Linked DNA regions of Homo sapiens: region 1 is linked to region 2. Evidence: promoter capture Hi-C in human tissues and cell types (Jung and others, 2019). All regions are on one chromosome and are shown on one strand. The core of a region is centred on a gene start or on the middle of the fragment in contact, and the rest is flanking DNA. Distances in the headings are between cores, read along the strand shown. Region 1 overlaps LOC105373053 (a long non-coding RNA gene). Region 2 holds the start of SCUBE1 (signal peptide, CUB domain and EGF like domain containing 1).

The links. The method cuts DNA at HindIII sites, captures the fragments that hold promoters and counts their contacts. A contact is called where the count stands out against the background at its distance.
Region 1: a fragment that was not itself captured here is called in contact with the fragment with the promoter of SCUBE1 in region 2 in 1 of the 25 tissues and cell types used here (IMR-90 fibroblasts).

Annotation. Positions count from the first base shown.
Region 1 is chr22:43,381,787-43,386,700 of GRCh38, reverse strand. All of the region lies in intron 3 of LOC105373053 (a long non-coding RNA gene), which reads left to right. Among named protein-coding and RNA genes, the nearest start is that of LINC01639, 16 kb to the left of the region's middle. The HindIII fragment of the contact is 8,457 bases long and covers 1-4,914 here.
Region 2 is chr22:43,340,353-43,345,496 of GRCh38, reverse strand. It overlaps SCUBE1 (signal peptide, CUB domain and EGF like domain containing 1), which reads left to right and starts at 2,125. Exons shown (of 22, transcript NM_173050.5): 1 at 2,125-2,323. The coding sequence starts at 2,236. The HindIII fragment of the contact is 4,801 bases long and covers 1-4,099 here.

The DNA of each region.
Region 1 (4,914 bases), core at 428-2,927, 42 kb before region 2:
AATCCCAGCTACTTGGGAGGCTGAGGCAGGAGAATCGCTTGAACCTGGGAGGCGGAGGTTACAGTGAGCTGAGATAGCACCATTGAACTCCAGCCTGGGCAACAAAAGCGAAACTCTGAAAAGAAAGAAAGAAGGAAAGAAAGAAAGAGAGAGAGAGGAAAGAAAGAAAGAGAGAGAGAGGAAAGAAAGAAAGAGAGAGAAAAGAAAGGAAGAAAGAAAGAAAGAAGAAAGAAAGAGGGAGGGAGGGAGGAAGGAAGGAAAAGGAAGAAAGAAGAAAGAAAGAAAACAAAGAAAGAAAGGAAAGAGAGAGAGAAAAGAAAGAGAAAGAAAGAAAGAAAGAAAAGAAGAAGAAAGAAAGAGGGAGGGAGGGAGGGAGGGAGGGAGGAAGGAAGGAAGGAAGGAAAAGAAAGAAGAAAGAAAAGGAAGGAAAAGAAAGAAAGAAGAAAGAAAGAAAAGAAAGAAAGAGAGAGAAAGAAAGAAAGAGTAAGAAAGAGAAAGAAAGACTGGATGGGCAAATTTGGACCGTGCACACACCAACCACCTTGCACAATGCTTGGTACTCTCACATCCGTGACTTCACTTAGCCCCCATAAAACCCCTGCTTCCATCATTTTCCAGCTGGGGAAACTGAGGCCCAGAAAAGAGACATTCCCAGTGTCACGCAGTGCTGGGTTCCAGCTGGGCAGTGCTGGAATCAAACCCCGGTCAACAGGGAGAGTCAGCTGCAGTTTGTCAGTGGAACAGCCTGAGCCGTGCGGCCGCGTTTCGCCAGAAAATCACTCCCTGCTCATCATAACCGGCACCTCTCCATGTCGGCCACACGAGGGCAGCAGCGCCCCGGCCATCGCCGGGCTTCGCACTGAGGCTTCTTCCATCCCTGCTGAGAACGACTGGGCGGTTGCAGCCAGCAAGGCTCAGAGGAGGAAGGGGCCACGTCGGGGACCTCTAGGGTCTGCGAGGGGCCCAGGCTGTGTCCTGCCCCCTCCGCTGCCTTGGTGCATGAAAGACTCCACTTCTTCTGTGAAATGGAGGCTTGTGTCCCCACCCAGGCAGCCCAGGCTCCGGATAACATCAAGTGCCTCTGCCAGGCTGGGGTGCGGCGAATAATCAAAAGAAGCACGGAACCACTGACCAGGTCCAAGTCTCCATTTCACAGAAGTGGAGGCTTCATGGTATCACTGCCTCCGTGCAGAAGAAAAGGAGACTCCAGAGGCTGACGCAATTTGCCTGAGGTAGACGCAGAGTCAGACTCAGAGGCCGTATTGGTTCGTCCCACCGTCTTCCAGAGAGAATGGGCTGCCTCCTGGAGCCCTGACCCACCCACGACAGCCCCCAGGATGTCCTACAGCCAGTTGCAAACTCAGTTTGTCCAAAGCCATTGCCCTTCCCTCTCTGTCTTCTGTCAGTGGGAGGCACCACTGCACAGAGACCCCCAGCCTGAAACCTGGCATCTCCCAAAACTTCTCTGAGCTCCTTAACCCCACATCTCCCATCCAACTCATCACCAAACTCTGTGGATTCTCCCCAGGCCCGTTTTTTAAGATGACAAAAATTGCCTTGAACTACATCTGGGCTGTGATTTCGGATTGGGACACACACTCTTCAGTTTGCTACAGGCTTCACCGCTCCCTGCTGCATCCCCAGCTCTGGGGGCCCAGGTCAGCTGCTGTCGAGCACTGGGCTTCACTGATGTGCTTTTTACAGCGAGGGAGTATTTCCTTGCCCCATCAAGTGTGCAGGAAAGAAAGCTGGGCAGAGAAGTCTGCCTATTTGAAGAAAAAAAATCAGAAACAATTTTCTTCAGGTGACAGAAGGCAATTTTTAAGAAGCATGCAACCAAAATGCATTATATGTAAACTGTGTAATATCTAATATTTTTTACGCTCAGCCCACGTTATACATTTTTGCCACCTGTCTGGCCACTGTAGGCTTTGGAGGTTGCAACCCCCAGGTGATAATAATCACAGAAGAGACTTACAGTGAGATAGCGAGATGGGGGTGGGTGTGGGCAGAGGGAGAGGAAGAGTCAAGCCATTTAGATAACTTGGGTTTCCTCTCCAGGCCCCAAAAAGCAGGAAGGGGGCGCGTAGAGTACTACCTCCTATCCTATTTTGTCCAAAGCCAGATTCATAATCATTGCCACTTCCATGCACACCCTTCTCAGTTTCCCACCCGATTCCCATAGACGGGGCCCCTCCACTATCTCCTGCCCACAGTATAAGTCGTAAAGTCTCCCAAACCTCAACCAGGTGAACAATAGTGCCTGATGTCACCCAGGTCCTATTGCAATGATTATGTGTTTTTTCTTTAAGCTGTTAATGGAATGAATTATATTAATTAATTTCCTAATAATAGGAATTGCATTCATAAGATAAACATAACTTCATCATAATATGCTGGGGTTTTTTGTTTTTGTTTTTTTTTTCTTTGAGATGGAGTCTCACTCTGTAGCCCAGGCTGGAGTGCAGTGGCACGATCTCGGCTCACTGCAACCTCTGCCTCCAGGGTCCAAGAGATTCTCCTGCCTCAGTCTCCCAAGTAGCTGGGACTACAGGCGCCTGCCACCACACCTGGCTAATTTTTTGTATTTTTAGTAGAGACGGGTTTTACCATGTTGCCCAGGTGGTCTCAATCTCCTGAGCTCGGGCAATTCACCTGCCTCGGCCTCCCAAAGTGCTGGGATTATAGGCGTGAGCCACTGCACCCGGCCTGTACTGTATTTTTTATTATTATTGCTGAATTCACTGTGCTAATAATTTTCAAGAATTCTTGGAATCTATGCTCATGGGTAAAATTGACTTGAAAGTTTTCTTTATTGTACTGTCATCATCTGATTAGCCAGCTTATGCTAACCGAATAAGGTAAACTGGTAAGTGTTGACTGTGTTTCTCCACTGTGGAGTAGAAATTTGGGTAAGCTTGAACTGATTTGTTCTTTGACTGTTTAGCCAAATTAGGATTTGGTTCATCCCACCATCTTCCAGAGAGAGCTGGGCTATTAATTTGGTGAATTCCAAATTCACATATCTGGAATTGTCATCTGGGACAGACGTTTTCTTTATAGGAAGATTTTAAACTACTAAATTAATGTATTAAGTGATTATAGGACCTTTCAGGTTTTCTGTTTTTTCTTGAGTCAACTTCAGTAAATTGTATTTTTCTAGGAATTTGGCAATTTTGTTTAAGACTTCTTATGTATTGGCATACAGTCACTTATAACAGTCTTGTGATATTTAATATTATTCATTTACTCTATGAAAAATCTAGAATTATGTCCCTTCTTTCATCCCTAGTATTGTTTATCTGTGCTCTCTCTTATGTCTTAAACTTGTAAGAGATTTTTATAATTTTTTAGTCCTTTCAAAAAATAATATTTTGTCTTTGATTCTCTTCCCTACTTAGGTTTGTTTTCCGGTTTTTTTGTTTGTTTGTTTGTTTTTTGTTTTTTTGTGTGATGGCATCTCACTCTGTTGCCCAAGCTGGAGTACAGTGGTGTGATCTCAGCTCACTGCAGCCTCCCAACTCCTGGGTTCAAGTGATTCTCCTGCCTCAGCCTCCCGAGTAGCTGGGACTACAGGTGCCCACCACCACGCCTGGCTTATTTTTGTATTTTTTAGCAGAGACAGGGTTTTGCCATGTTGGCCAAGCTGGTCTTGAACTCCTGGTCTCAAGTGATCCACCTGCCTCGGCCTCTCAAAGTGCGGGATTACAGGTGTAAGCCACCATTCCCAACCATTTAGGTTTGTTTTCTACGTCATTAATTTCTGTGCTTTTTTTTTAGATGGAGTCTCGCTCTGTCACCCAGGCTGGAGTGCAGTGGCATGATCTCGGCTCACTGCAAGCTCCACCTCCCAGGTTTATGCCATTCTCCCGCCTCAGCCTCCTGAGTAGCTGGGACTACAGGTGCACACCACCATGCCTGGCTAATTTTTTTGTATTTTTAGTAGAGACGGGGTTTCACCTGTGTTAACCAGGATGGTCTCAATCTCCTGACCTCATGATCTGCCCACCTTGGCCTCCCAAACTGCTGGGATTATAGACATGAGCCACCACGCCTGGCCCTAATTTCTGTTCTTAACATTTGATTCCTTTTAATATCTTGGGGTTTATTCTGCTGTTCTTATTTTAACTTTTAAGTCAGATGCTTAGTTCGTTCATTTGAAGCATTTCTTTTTTCTTCTTCTTTTGTTTTATTTTTGAGACAGAGTCTTTCTCTTTTGCCCATGCTGGAGTGCAGTGGCACCATCTCAGCTCACTGTAACTTTCACCTCCTGGGCTCAAGCAATCCTCCTGCCTCAGCCTCCAAAGTAACTGGGACTACAGGTGTGCACCACCATGCCCAGCTAATTCTTGTATTTTTTGTAGAGACATGGTTTTGCCAGGTTGCCCAGGCTGGTCTCGAACTCCTGGGCTCAAGCAATCCACCCACCTCGGCCTCTCAAAGTTCTGAGATTACAGACGTGAGCCACCACACCTGGGCCATGAAGCATTTCTTATTTGCCAATACAAGCATTTAAGATTATAAACACTCCTCTAAATACTGCTTTGGTTGGATCTCACAAGTCGTGATGCAAAACATTTTTGTGAATGCTCAATTCTAAGTATTTTCTAATTTTAGTTGTGATTTCGTTTTTGGACCGCGAGTTGTTTGGATGTACTGTTTTTCCTAAAGTACAGGCATTTGCTTGTTGTCTTTTTGGTTATTAACATCTAACTTGTTTAGATTGTGATCAGAGAATATAGTCTGTGTACACATTGTGGTGGAAGCTATGACTACAGCACAGCTTCCTCTTCCGGAACGAAGGACTTAGTCCCCCAGCTGCTGCGAGAGCTGCTGGAGGATGGCCCCCAGCTGTCTGCTCTCTTAGGAAGTTATGTGGGCTGAGGAAATTGACTTGCCCAGTCAAGACCATGC
Region 2 (5,144 bases), core at 876-3,375:
CCTCTTTCTCTGCTCCACAGGCCGCCTCCTTTCCTTCACCTGTGAGGGGCTTACAGGTGTGTCTTCTCTCCATTTCCCTCCTCCTCTGCTCGCTGAGTCCTCCACATAGACAACAGCTGCCTAGAAGGAACCACTTTCTCTCTGCCTGCACACCTTAGAGGGTGATAATTCACCAGCAAACTTGACCTGAGCAATCGCTTGGGGGCAGGCTGGGGACTACAACTTGGTACAAGGGACAGCTACCTCTGGGCTGAGGGGTCACAGAGTAACCTGCCTCCATTCCTGCCTTGATTTGTGGGGATGGAGCCTGGAAGAAGCTTCTCTTGCTGCCATCAAGCTTGAGGGGCACCTGGCTAGGGCTGGGCGGGGGGGTGCCTAATGACCAGGCACATTAGAGGGCATTGTTTCAAGTAGGTCAGAGCCCCCTGGAAGAACCTCCCCCACCACCTCACACTGCTTGCCCTGTTGCCCAATGCACAAGATAATATGTGGTTCTGAGGGAACTCCCCACCCCCTGCAGAAACTCAAAGCTACACAATTGACGGGGACAAAATAAAGCCTGTCAACAGCATCTCCCAAATTAAACCAGCAGCCAGGAGCAGCCGTGCAGACCGAAATGTCTGGAGCAATGGGGTGGGGGCTCAGTGGAGACAACAGGCAGCGCTTCCTTCTTCTTTGGGCATCTCTGGACCCCCCACACCCCCGATCCCCATGTAGGGGACCCCTTGCCTCAGCCACCAGGCCCGTGCCACAAGCTGATGTGAAGTCAGATGGGGTGTGAGAGCTGGCTGGACACAGATTTAACCTTCCAGGGCTGAGGAGCTCGTCTACGGTAGGTTGGATGAGGGCGTGAAGAAGCATGTGTGAGCGTGTGTGTGCTGGAGGGTGTGAGGGTGTGAGGCTGTGTCTGAGTGATTGCACGTGAGAGCATGTGTCTGCATGTGTGACTGTGTGTGTGTGTGTGTGTGTGTGTGTGTGTGTGTGTGTGCGTGTGTGTGTTGGGGGCAGGAAAGGGAGCTGGTGTGGAGGGGCTCAAACTGGTGCAGGCAGAGTGGACAAAAAGAGAAAAGAGTTGTCTTTGAGTTGGGCCTGGAGAGCAGGAGAAGAAAAAAGGAGCTCTTATTGGTGGTTGTCAAGGAGATGGGCCTTGGGGTTTGCTGAACTTTCGTCCCTTAAAGCGTCCTGCCTGGAACTGAGAGGGGCCATTTATTTCCAGCCGCCCGTCCCTCCCAGGCCCGGTGGGACCAGACCCGAAGCCAACCCTCGCCAGGCGTCAGGTGTAGACCCCAGGCCAGGCCAGAGCAGTTCCTGGGTCTTCGGACCGGGATGCCCGCCCTGCCCCTCCTCCTGGCCCCGCCCGGTCTGTCACAGGGGGAGGCCTCGGCCTCGCATTCCGGGCAGCGAACTTCGCCGGCCGAGGTTAGCCCCGTGCGGGGGCCTCCCGCGGGACCGACCGCCAAGCGGCATTGTCCGTCCCGGGCGCCCGCCCGGTTCCAGACGCAGGTCCTGCGGCCGCCCCGTGACAAGCACACTGACGGGCCACTGTCCTTTGACGAGTGCTAAAAAGTTCGTTTGTTTTGAACGTCAATTTTCAAGTGATCTTCACGAGGTTTCCCCTCCCGGTTCCTTCGCTGCTGCCTCGCCCGCACTCGGTCCCCAGTAGGTGCTCAAGAAACGTCCAGCAAACGGCAGCGCAGGCGAGTCTGCTCTGCGCGCTGGCGCGTTTCACTGCCCACGGATGGCGGGCGACCTCACGGGATCCCCGGTTCGCAGGATCCCCGCCCCCGAGGCTGCCTCTGGGCCGGGAGGGGTTACCCCAGAGGGGCGTCCACTCTCGACGGCGGGGGCCGGGGCGCCGCGGGCAGGGGAGGGCGCAGCCTCCAAGCAGCCCCAGCCTGGCCTAGACCCCGCGCCTAGCGAGCCGGCCGGCCAGGCCCACACCCCCCACCTGCCGCCCGCCCCAGGGGAAGGGTCCCCCCGACGACGCCCGAGCCCCCCTCTTCCTCGGAGGGCCGGAGGCCGGCGCCCATTGGCCGGCCCTGGGCGACGCCCCGCCCCTCCGACGCCACGGGCCAATGAGCGCGCGCTGTCAGCTCATCAGCCGGGCTGGCTGGGCGGCTCGGGAGCCCGAGCGGTGGCGGAGCGGCGAGCAGCGAGCAGCGCCTGCGGGAGCGGCCGGTCGGTCGGGTCCCCGCGCCCCGCACGCCCGCACGCCCAGCGGGGCCCGCATTGAGCATGGGCGCGGCGGCCGTGCGCTGGCACTTGTGCGTGCTGCTGGCCCTGGGCACACGCGGGCGGCTGGCCGGGGGCAGCGGGCTCCCAGGTAAGCCCCCGACCGAGGTGGGGGGCGGCGGGCGCGGGGGGCTCGGGCGGCCGAGGCGCGGTCCCGGAGGGCTTCTTCCCCGCGGATCCCGAGCTCGCCCCGCGCGGCCCCGCGCCCCCTGCCTCTTTGCAAAGTAACTTCTAGGGCCGGCCCGGGGCGCCCCCTCCCCGCAGCCCGGGCGGCCGGGGCTCCTGAGTCCGGCGGGGCCGCACCAGGGGTGGGTGGGCCGGGGCCCCGGGAGGGGAAGCGCGAGCGCGGGAGCGAGGAAGAAAGGCGGCGGTTCCCGGGGACCCCGCGTGCGGACCTGGGCGGGGCGGGACCCCGAGCGCAGAGGGGCGCTCCTCCTGGGAGAGGGGGCGCGGGGCGGGGCGGGCGGAGGGGGACACGCCAGGAGGTGGACGGGGAAAGGGACGGACCGAGAGACCGGGACGGGGCGGGAGGTGCGGGACAGACGGACAGAAGAGCCGGCGCCGAGGGAGCAGACAAAAGGAAGCCCGGAGAAAAGACAGATGCGGAAGGGTAGAGAGGAGGCCCGCACCGCCCGGGGAAGGAGGAGGAGGCCGGTGGATCAGGGGGAATCAAGAGGGATGGTCCCACCGATGATAAGGGAGAGAGAGAGGAGGAGACGGGGGACAGATGGACGCCGCAGAAAAACGGGGTTGGGGGGGGCGGTGAGAGGGAGACCGGGAAAGAGAGAGGGACAGAGATACCTGGAAAGCCGCAGACGAGGGACCGGGACCGTCTGACAGGACGGGGAGGAAAGACAGAGGGAAGGAAGGCAGAGGATCCGGAGGACAGACACAGGGAGGAGAGTCCGGACGCGGGACGTCGGTGGAGCAGACCCAGGAAGGGGAGGGGGAGACCCGGAGGCCACAGGCCCAGGCCCGTGGGTTTCACGGGGACCCCCCCACCCTCCCACCCGGTCCCCTCCTGCTCTCTGTCTTCAGGGGCTTCCCGAAAAGCTGGAGTCACATTCTCCCCTCCTCGTCATCAGAGGCGCTTCCTCCGGTGCTCTGCTTGGAGGGGGAGGCAGGGGGAGGGTCCTGCACGTCCTTCCCGGCTTCCTGAGGTCTGGTATGGGTGGCGTAGGGTCTATTCCTGGTGGTCCCGCGTGCCCCGAGTGAGGATGCTGGGCCTGTGAGACTCTTCCACAGCAACACCCCTCCTGGAAGCCCAGCCCTGCTGCCCCATCATCCCCCTTGTGTCTGTGGGTGTCTCTCCCAAGCTTTGGGGTCCCTCACCTCTGAGTGACTGTTCCTGGGCGTGCCTATCCCCACCTGTGTCCCTCCTCGTGTCTCTCTGTATCTGACTCTGTCTCCTCCACGACCCTCTCCGTGGAAGCCCTGTGACTGTGAAACCCCAGCAGCATGTCCCCAGCATAAGCAAACCAGAGTCAAAGGGAGCAGCCTGTGCTAGGAGGGCTGGGTCGCCCTGCAGGGGAGTCTCCAGCCCAGACAGGAGCGGGAGCATGGCAGAGAACCGATGGGGACAAGTGGCTTCTCCCTCTCTCTCCTCAAACTCCCATGTCCTCTCCCCACACTCCACACCAAGGACACCCAAGTGTTTAAAGGTGTGTTGGGAGATAGCTCCACCCACCCCTCATCAACATCCATCCATTTCCATTCCAGTGAAGACACCTGCCTAGGTGGGAGATTAGGGGTGAGGGCACAAGGGGCTCCCACCCCTCATTCCTACATACTGGCCCCTGGGAAGTGGGAAGAGCCATATCTGTGGCCCACTGCCCCTGCTGGTCCTGTCTCATAAGTGACCCCAGTCCTCCCAAACAGAAGCCTGGAGATGGGCCCTCTCTGGCCTCTGGGTCCCTGCCTTAGAGGCAGTGCCAGTCCTGCACAGTGTCCCTCTGTTGCCACTTCCCCAGAAGGCCCTCATGGATGTTCCTGCTGGCCCAGCCATCCAGTTGCCGGCTGGGCCCCCTCCAGTTCCTGCCTCCTTGTCCCCTTTCCACTCTTCCCCTGGGCAGCTGTCTAGGACAGGCCGCCCACCTGAGCAGATGGGTAGCCCCCCCCGGAAAGCAATGCCACCTGCCGTGTGTGTGCGCACACGTGCATGCATGTGTGTGTGTGTGTGTGTGCAGGGGGGTCATGCTGTTGTGTTTCTTGTTGATGCCTCTCTTCCTTCAGGGGTGGGCAGGAGACTTAGGGGCTAGGGCAAAGAAGGAGAAGCCCTGGGGGGCATGGATCTCATAGGCCCCACTGGCAGATTTCGAACCCAGATATTATCCAGGGGAGAAATTTAGAGTGGACACTCTTGGGGACCCAGCAATCTAAGGTGAGACCAGAGGCATGAAGAGATGGGGACATTCCAAGCTTACCCCTGGGGCACTGCCCTCATGGCAGCTGCTGAGAGTTCCTTGCACTGCTGCACTCCTGGGTCCTTCTGTCTGTCTGTCATGTCTACATTTCATGCATTGCTAGCTAGAAGTCACATGGCACATAGGAAAGCTCATTCTGTGTCAGAGTCCAGTCTCAGCCCCAGTGAGCTACTGACCCATAACAGATTTCACCTCACTGGGCCTCATTTCCTCATCTATAACCTGAGGAATCAACCTGGATTATAGGTACAGCTCTGACTGTGCTGAACTGTGCCCGACAAGAGGCACGTCCCCTCCCTGCCTGAACTCTGTGTGTGTGTGTGTGTGTGTGTGTGTGTGTGTGTGTGTGTGTGTGTGTGTAAAAGAGACAAGGAGAGAGGCTTGGGGTGTATAGATGGAATGGATACACAGAATCTATTTTGCACAATTTGCCCCAACAGCTGTTCCAGACTGAAAGTGTATATGTGTTGGGGGCAGGAGGTAGAGAGT